Linked DNA regions of Homo sapiens: region 2 is linked to region 1. Evidence: promoter capture Hi-C in human tissues and cell types (Jung and others, 2019). All regions are on one chromosome and are shown on one strand. The core of a region is centred on a gene start or on the middle of the fragment in contact, and the rest is flanking DNA. Distances in the headings are between cores, read along the strand shown. Region 1 holds the start of DRC1 (dynein regulatory complex subunit 1). Region 2 has its middle 14 kb from the start of GAREM2.

Evidence for each region. The method cuts DNA at HindIII sites, captures the fragments that hold promoters and counts their contacts. A contact is called where the count stands out against the background at its distance.
Region 2: a fragment that was not itself captured here is called in contact with the fragment with the promoter of DRC1 in region 1 in 1 of the 25 tissues and cell types used here (spleen).

Annotation. Positions count from the first base shown.
Region 1 is chr2:26,400,059-26,404,889 of GRCh38, forward strand. DRC1 (dynein regulatory complex subunit 1) reads left to right here and starts at 1,862. Exons shown (of 17, transcript NM_145038.5): 1 at 1,862-2,086. The coding sequence starts at 1,932. The HindIII fragment of the contact is 4,401 bases long and covers 1-3,687 here.
Region 2 is chr2:26,156,703-26,161,529 of GRCh38, forward strand. No RefSeq gene overlaps it. Among named protein-coding and RNA genes, the nearest start is that of GAREM2, 14 kb to the right of the region's middle. The HindIII fragment of the contact is 4,116 bases long and covers 1-3,418 here.

The DNA of each region.
Region 1 (4,831 bases), core at 612-3,111:
TTTATTACATAATTGAGGCTGCCTGTGGGAGCAAAGAGGGCCTCCCAGCTGGTCAGAAAATGGCTAGAGAGAGCCAGGAAAGGAGACAAGCTTGGGGCTTTTATTGTGGTTAAGGGGTGAGGCTGGGAGGAGGGTATCCTGTGCACGCAGATGAAATCTGCCAGCACCAAAAAGAGCACCTAGGCTTTTTTTAACAGCTTGCCCAGATGTGGAGAAGAAAGAGGGAGTGCTGCGTAAAAGCTGCCAGCAGCCAAATGTCAGCAGCAAAAAATGGAGTCAGATTTCTTATATAAAAAGATGTTGGAAGTGGTATCAGAACAGTGCAGGGCCAAGTATCTCACTGGTCACTCTTCATGGGTTTGTATGGTACCTTTGCTCTCACTTACCTCTTGTGCAACAGCTGATTCCCCCTGACTTTCTCATGGTATCCCACTCCCAGGCATAGACATGCGCATGCACACATGCTTGTTTCTGTCCTTACGGATAGTGGAAACATGAACCAGGACCTGGACGAGTTTTTGGTCAGAGCTGTATCATGGCTCCTAGGAGAGTTTAATACTTTAGGTTTCAACCAAAGGAGACAGAGATCTGGCAGAAGGCCCTGAAGCCTAGAAGCAAGTACCCCCGCTCCTACCACCACCACCTAGGCAGGTGTGAGACAAGGATCCAGGCAGCTGCTGTTAGACTCTATAGCTGTTGGATGGTTTTGGCATTCCTAAACCTCTCTACTGCTTGCAAACGTGGAAGAACTGATTTTAAAAACCCACTCCATTTGCCTCTGGGCAGTTCTTACTCACAAAGGACGGGTCGTCTTGGCCGCACAGTTGTCTGTGGGTTGCATCATTTAACAGCTGAGAAAATGCTCCTCAAGAAGTTGTGACTTGCCCAAGGTGGCAGGGCAGGGCTAGGACTAGTACTCACCCTTTCTCACTGCTCATCCAGTGCCCTTAATTCCCCACGGGCTAATGGGACAGAACCCTGTTAAATGGTATCCAGTTTTTGTTTGGTTGGTTGGTTGGGTTTTTTTGAGACAGAGTCTTGCTCTATTGCTCAGGATGGAGTGCAGTGGCTCGATCTCGGCTCACTGCAACATCCACCTCCCAGATTCAAGCGATTCTCCTGCCTCAGCTTCCCGAGTAGCTGGGATTATGGGTGCCCACCACCATACCCAGCTAATTTTTGTATTTTTAGTAGAGACGGGGTTTCATCATGTTCACCAGGCTGGTCTCAAACTCCTGACCTCAAGTGATCTGTCCACCTCGGCCTCCCAAAGTGTTGGGAGGCTGAGGCATGAGCCAGCGCGCCAGGTTTTAATTCTCAATGAGAACACTATTTTTGTTGACAATGAGACGCCCAGAAGATAGCGCCTTTCTGGGGACAGTTGAGAATTTAATAGTGCTTCCGCATTTCTAACTTTTATCCCTCCCCCCTCCCACGGACTGTTTTCCTCTATTCCACTTTTCCTCTTTCATAAGTATTTGATTGCAGGTTGGTATCCTGTATCCAAGCACAGCGCTTGGCATCGAGTAGGCGCTCAATTTTATTTGGTGAATATGAGTTGGAGGAATATTTGATGAATGAATGGAAGATGAATTAATCATCAGGGTCAGCAAGTGATGAACCACAACTTGGTCCAGTTCTTTAGTCCTCTAGTCTCCTGGTGAGACTCCACAGCTCCGCTAACACGACCGGGCCTTCGTGGGCCTGACAACAGACCTGACATCCCACGGGCGGGAGAGGCGTCAGCCCGAGGCTGGGATGCTCGGCCGGAACGGCGGCTGGCGGCAGGCTGGGCCCAGGGAGCTGCGCGCGCAACCACTCGGGCTGTGGCTCCGGTGACCGCTCTCCCTGGCAACGGTTTGTTCCTAGCAACCAGCCTGAGGTCTGGAGGTGGTGCGGAGGGAGCCGCCTAGGGACCAGGGACTCCTGCCATGAATCCGCCGGGGTCCCTAGAGGCCCTGGACCCGAACGTGGACGAGCACTTGTCCACCCAGATTCTCGCGCCCTCGGTCCACTCCGACAACTCTCAGGAGCGCATCCAGGCCCGGCGCCTCCGCATCGCTGCGCGCTTAGAAGCCCGGAGGCGGTGAGCGCGGGGGCGGGCGGGGCGGGATCCGCGCCGCAGGAGCCGGAGAAGGGCTGGTTTCCTGATGAAATAGAAACATTTCTTCGGGAAGGTTCAGGCAGAGTATGGGAAAGTAAAACGCTGGGCCGGTGCCGTGGCGCGCGCCTGTCATCCCAGCACTTAGGGAGGCCGAGGCGGGCCGATCACTGGAGCCCAGGAGTTGGAGATGGTCAACCTGGGCAGCATAGAGAGACCCCATCTCTATAAAACATCAAACAATTAATCGGGCGTGGTGGCGTTCGACTGTGGTCTGCACATGGCATCTTTTCCACTACGGACACCTCCAAACCACAGGGTCTGCTGGATCATGTGGCCCAAGTAGCCTGGCTGCTTACACTGTGGCCTGGGTCCTTTCTTGTTCCAGGCACCACTCAAAGCTGGCAGCTTTTTGTGTCAGCCTGAATAATATTCCTAAGTGCGGGATGTATTGTCTCTAGGACCCAAAGTGGCCTAAGAGGCATTGAGTTTCCTTCTCTGTAGAGGATGCAAAATGCAGTAGATTTGTTTTTTACTTGATAGGCTATCCCAGCATCCCACTGACCACTGGACCCCTACAAACTTGAATGACATGGCAGTCCCTGGGCCTTCATAGGGTTGATTGCCCACCGTCTGGAGCACACATGTCTTACCAAGCCCTGCAGTGTGTTTCCATCACTCGCTCACCCTGGCTGATTGCTGCGGGGCCATCAGTGGAATGCAGGGGCCGGCAAACCCTTTCAGTAAAGGGCCAAATAGTAAATATTTTAGGCTTTTCGGATCATATGGCCTCTTTCCTAGCTGCTCAATTGCCATTGTATTGCAAAAGCAGCCACAGGCAAGACATAAACAAATGGGCATGACTGTGTTCCAATAAAGCTTTATTTATGGACACTGAAATTTGAATTTCATATACTGTTCATGTATCACAAAATAGCCTTCTTTTGATAAAAAATAATAATAAACTTTATTTTTTAGAGCAGTTTTTAGGACCACAGCAAAACTGATCAAAAAGTATAGCATTCGCATATACTCCCTGCCCCCACACATGCACAGCTACTGTCAACATCCTGCACTGGAGGGCACATTTGTAACAATATATGAACCTTGGCGCATCGTTATCACTTGAACTCCATTGTTTACCTTAGGGTTTCTTTTTGGTGTTGTACATCCTATGGGTTTGGATAAATTTATGGTGACACGAGCCCACCAGTATAGTATTATACCAAATATTTTTACTGCCCTAAAAATCCCCTGTGCTCTGCTTATTCATCCTAGTCTTTTTTTAACCATTTATTTATTAACCATTTAGAATTGTAAAAATCATTTAAAATTGTAAAAACCATTTAAAATTGTAAAAAATCGTAGCTCATGCCTGTAATCCCAGCACTTTGGGAGGCCAAGGCAGGAGGATCACCTGAGGTCAGGAGTTCAAGACCAGCCTGGCCAACATGGCGAAACCCTGTCTGTACTAAAAATACAAAAATTAGCCAGGTGTGGTGGCAGGCACCTGTAATCTCAGCTACTTGGGAGGCTGAGGCAGGAGAATTGCTCGAACCTGGGAGGCAGAGGTTGCAGTGAGCTGAGATAGCGCCACTGCACTCCAGCCTGGGTGACAAGCACAAAACTCCATCTCAAAAAAAAAAAAAAAAAAAATTGGGCCGGGCGCAGTGGCTCATGCCTGTAATCCCAAAACTTTGGGAGGCTGAGGCGGGCGGGATCACGAGGTCAGGAGTTTGAGACCAGCCTGACCGACATGGTGAAACCCTGTCTCTATTAAAAATACAAAAATTAGCCAGGCATGGTGGCGCGCGCCTGTAATCCCAGCTACTCAGGAGACTGAGGCAGGAGAATCGCTTGAACCCAGGAGGCGGAGGTTGCAGTGAGCTGAGATCGTGCCATTGCACTCCAGCCTGGGCGACAGAGCGAGACTCTGTCTCAAAAAAAAAAAATTGTAAAAATCATTATTTGCCTGGAAGCCATACAAAAACAGGTGGTGGACTGGATCTGTCCCACAGGCCATAGTTTGCCAGTGCTGAAGTAATGGATCATTGTGATGTTCTCTGGGATATCCAGATGTCCCTGATATATTCAGAATATATTATGACAGAGATCAGGAGAACTACCATGGTCCTGTGAGTGTGACCGACTTGTGAGTGTATATCATTGTCTGTTCCATGTAAATGTGAACTTCCTGATTATTTTTCCTGATTGAGGTAGAAAAGCATGCATTTGGCCCAATCAGTAGCCACACATACTGTGCCTGAGGCTGTACAAATTTGCTCTAGTGAAGCTTACCACACTTGCATAGATGCTGTGTTCAGGAGTGCTACCTGTGGAGCTTCTGGTAGTTGACAGTCACTTTCTAGGATCCAGTTTCTGCAGGTGCCAGACCCATGAATTAAAAGGAGATTCAATAGGGATCACCATTCCTGCATCGTTGAGATACTTCAGGGTGGCACTAATCCCCACCAACACCCCTGGGTGGCAATATTTTTTTTTGTGTACTGAGGTGCAGTTTCAGAGATGTCCTTTTGGCCTTCCCCACTATGGTAGCTCTATTTATAGGCCAAGGAGTGGAGTTTTTCAAACTTCTAAGTATGTAGGTCCCAATTATACTTTTGGCCATTAGAGACATGATTGCTGGCTGAGTCCACAGACTTGGCAGACCCTCTGTAAGTAGGACTTTGCCTCCCCTGTGTCCTCACTCTAAGTGGGTGGGAGCATGCT
Region 2 (4,827 bases), core at 111-2,610, 240 kb before region 1:
AAAAGTTTTAAATAGACATTTCTAAGGAAGATAGACAAAGGGCCAAAAAGCACATGAAAATATGTTCTATATCATTGGTCATTAAGGAAATGCAAATCAAAATTACAGTGAGAGACCACTTCACTCCCATTAGGACGGCTATAACAAAGCCAAACCAACAAACAGGCAAACTGTAAATTAGAAACCAGAAGACAGGCTGGGCGCGGTGGCTCACGCCTGTAATCCCAGCACTTTGGGAGGCCAAGGCGGGCGGATCACGAGGTCAGGAGATCGAGACCATCCTGGCTAACACGGTGAAACCCCGTCTCTACTAAAAATACAAAAAAATTAGCCAGGTGTGGTGGCGGGCGCCTGTAGTCCCAGCTACTCGGGAGGCTGAGGCAGGAGAATGGTGTGAACCCGGGAGGCAGAGCTTGCAGCAAGCCAAGATCGCACACTGCACTCCAGCCTGGGGAACAGAGCAAGACTTGGTCTAACAACAACAACAAAAAAACGGAAGACAACAAGTGTTGATGGAGATACGGAGAAACTGGAACCCTCATATGTTGCTGATGGGAATGTGAAATTGTTCAACTACTACTGTGGAAAACAGTTTGATGATTCCTCAGTAAGTCTAACATAGAATTACCAAACAACCCAGCAGTTCCACTCCTAGGTATTTACCCAGAAGAACTGAAAACAGGTATTTAAACAAAAACTTGTACAAGAATGTTCTTACCAGCACTATTCACAATAGTCAAAAGGTAGAACAACTCAACTGTCCGTCAACTGCTGAAAGGATAACACATATGGTATATCCATACTTTGGAATATTATTCAGTCATAAAAAGTAACATAGTATTGATACACACTACATTATAGATGAACATGGAAAACATTATGGTAAATGAGTGAAGCCAGACACAAAAGGCCACTTGTTATATGATTCCATCATATGAAATAGCCAGAAGAGGTACATCTATAGAGACAGGAAACAAATCAGTGGTTGCGAGGGCTGAGGATTGAAATGGGGAGTGACTGCTTAATGGGCGCGGAATTTCCTTTTAGGTGATGAAAATGTCCTGGAACTAGTGAGGATGATTGCACAACATTGCAAATGTACTAAATGCCACTGAATTGTCCTTTTTTTTTTTTTTTTTTTTTTTTCAGAGATAGGGTCTCTCCCTTTCGCCCAGGCTGGAGTGAAGTGGCTTGATCATAGCTCACTGTAACTTCGAACTTTTGGGCTCAAGTGATCCTCCTGCCTCAGCCTCCCTAGTAGCTGGGACTACAGGTATGTACCACCACACCTGGCTAATTTTTCTATTTTTTGTAGAGACAAGGTCTTGCTATATTGCCAAGCCTGGTCTCAAACTCCTGGCCTCAAGCAATCTTCCTGTCTCAGCCTCCTGTCTCAAAGTGTTAAAATTACAGGCATGAGCCACTGTGCTTAGCCTAAATTTTAAATTCTTAAATGATGAAGTTTAAATTTGTTGTGAATGTAAATTTATGTGAATGTTACCTCGATTTTAAAAAATAGTGTTACATAATTTAATCAATGGTTCATTAGTAAATTAAACAGTTTCGTTACTGATGGAAGATATCTGAGTTACCTGGAGTTACCCACGGTGAATCTGTACGGATCTGCGGCAACCTTAATTCTTGCCTCCTTGGAAGAAAGAATTCAACCGAGGGGCATAGGGCAGAAGAGACAGAGGCATGTTTCAGAGCAGGAGTGGAAGTTTATTAAAAAGCTTTAGAACAGTAAGGAAAGGAAGGAAAGGGAAAAAAAAGAAGGAAAATACAACTTGGAAGAGGGAAGTGGGATGACCTGAGAAACCAGTGTGCAGCTTGACCTCTGGACTTGGGGCTTTATATATTGGCATACTTCCGGGATCTTGCATTATAACTTCTCCCCATTCCTGAGATCTTACTGGGAAGCTGCTGATCAGTTTCAGGTATTTTCTATCTATTAGGAAACTGTCCTTCCCTGGCACCAGCTGTGACGAATTATTACTTTAGAGAAACAGGTGGCCGGGCACAGTGGCTCATGCCTGTAATCCCAGCACTTTGGGAGGCCGAGAAGGGCGGATCACCTGAGGCCAGGAGTTCAAGACCAGCCTGGCCAACATAGTGACACCTCCCCCCACCATCTCTACTAAAAATGCAAAAATTAGTCAGGCTTGGTGGCGCGGGCCTGTAGTCCCAGCTACTTGGGAGACTGAGGCAGGAGAGTCGCTTGAACCCAGGAGGCAGAGGTTGCAGTGAGCCGAGATCATGCCACTGCCCTCCAGCCTGGGTGACAGAGCAAGACCCTGTCTCAAAAAAAAAAAAAAAAAAAGAGAAACAGTTAACAACCACCTGACCATCACCTGACAGGTCTCCCAACACGCCTGGTCTATGTGTTGGTGGGGAGCACTCTCCGGCGCTGCTCATACCTGACTAGCTACCTACTGTAACAATTTGACTTAATAAGATTCCACTGACTGGCCGGGTGCAGTGACTCCTGCCTATAATCCCAACTCTTGGGGAGGCCAAAGTGGGTGGATCACTTGAAGTCAGCAGTTCGAAACAAGTCTGGCCAACATGGTGAAACCCTGTCTCTACTAAAAATACAAAAATTAGCCGGGCGTGGTGGCACGAGTCTGTAATCCCAGCTACTTGGGAGGCTGAGGCAGGAGAATCGCTTGAACTTGGGAGGTGAAGGTTGCAGTGAGCCGAGATTGTGCCACTGCACTCCAGCCTGGGGGACAGAGCAAGACTTTGACTCAAAAAAAATAAAAATAAAAATAAAAATAAAAAATAAAAAAAAGAAAAAGAAGAAAAGATTCCACTGACAATACAAATAAATTGAAATCTGTAATTTGATTAAAAAGTAGAGATTCTCATGTCATGTAATAGTGATTTCACAGTGAGTTTTGAGTTTACACTGGGTTTACTAGTGAGGTCAGGACCATAACATGAAAGATAATCCAATTGACCATGAAGGCGTTCCCATCAGTTGTTCAGTCACTCTGTAGGTGACTGGGTGGGGGCTTTCCCACAACTTCTGGAAACTCCTTGGTGGGCGGATCACCTGAGGCCAGGGGTTCAAGACCAGCCTGGCCAACATGGTGAAACCCCATCTCTACTAAAAATAATTTTAAAGAAAGTGAGCCAGGCGTGGTGGTGCATGACTGTAATCCCAGCCACTCGGGAGGCTGAGGCAGGAGAATCGCTTGAACCCAGGAGGCGAAGGCTGCAGTGAGCTGAGATCGCGCCACTGCACTCCAGCCTAGGTGACAAAGCCAGTGAGACTGTCTCAAAAAAAAAAAAAGTACCAATTATGCTATGGTTTTGTGCTGGGAACAACTCTATTTCCCCAGGAACTAGGGGATCTCGCTCCTTTTCCTGTTCTGATTCCAGTGGAATGCCAGTGTGTCAACTCCTAGGATTTGCTGCCATCTTCAAGACATCAGGTCTTAAATCTGGAGAAGGAAGCTACACCACGCTTTTGGAGCCATGCATATTATCCAGGTCTATCTATTGCTCAGATTGGCAGAGGAGTGCTTTTGGTGTTTATCTTAAAGTAAGTTGTCACCCAACCCAAGGTCACCTAGATTTTCTCTTGTGTTATTCTCTAGGAGTGCTATTATTTTATATTTTACATTTAGGTCTATGATCCATTTTGAAATAATTCTTGTGAAGGATGTAAGGTCTGTGTCTAGATTAGTTTTTTTGTTATATGTATGTCCAATTGTTCTGGAACCATTTGTTGAAAAAGACTGTGCTTTTTCCATTGAATTGCCTCTCCTCCTTTGTCAGAGATCAGTTGACTATATTTGTGTGGATCTATTTCCGAGGTCTCTATTCTACTCCATTGATGTATTTGTCTTATTGCACAGATTGGAATTTCAGGGGAATTGTTGGACAATCTGTTTCAGGCGACAAAGGCAAAGCTGTTGGATCCCCAGCTAATTATTGACTTGGCTCACAGAAAAGATGTTGGATTATTTCAACCGGTTTTATTTTTTTGTTTTTTTTGTTTTTTTTTTTTTTGTGAGACAGTCTCGCTCTGTTGCCCAGGCTGGAGTGCAGTGGCGCGATCTCGGCTCATTGCAAGCTCCGCCTCCCGGGTTCACACCATTCTCCTACCTCAGCCTCCCAAGTAGCTGGAACTATAGGCGCCCGCCACCACGCCCAGCTAATTTTTTGTATTTTTAGTAGAGACGGGGTTTCACTGTGTTAGCCAGGATGGTCTCGATCTCCTGACCTTGGGATCCGCCTGCCTCGGCCTCCCAAAGTGCTGGGATTACAGGTGTGAGCCACCTCGCCCGGCCTATTTCTACAGTTTTACTCCATCATTTGCAGTCACTTAAGCCCAGATGACACCAAGTCCATCTGAGATGTTCAGGCAAGTGTGATTCTGAAATGGTGTGAAAGACCACTGACACAAAACCTCTCTTTTGGGAAACAGTTTGAATAATTTTTTTTTTTTTGAGACAGAGTCTCGCTCTGTTGCCCAGGCTGGAGTGCAGTGGCATGATCTCGGCCCACTGTAACCTCTGCTTCCTGGGTTCAAGCGATTCTCCTGCCTCAGCCTCCCGAGTAGCTGGGATTACAGGCACCCACCACCATGTCTGGCTAATTTTGCATTTTTAGTAGAGATGGGGTTTCGCCATGTTGGTCAGACCACCTCAGCCTCCCAAAGTGCTGGGATTACAGGCGTGAGCCACCATGCCCAACCCGAATAAAGTAATTTTTAAAGGATTCTGAAACTTGCCATGTTTTGAAAGTAAAGAACACCATTTAAAAAGCAAGAGATGGGCTGGGTGCAGTGGCACATGCCTGTAATCCCAGCACTTTGGG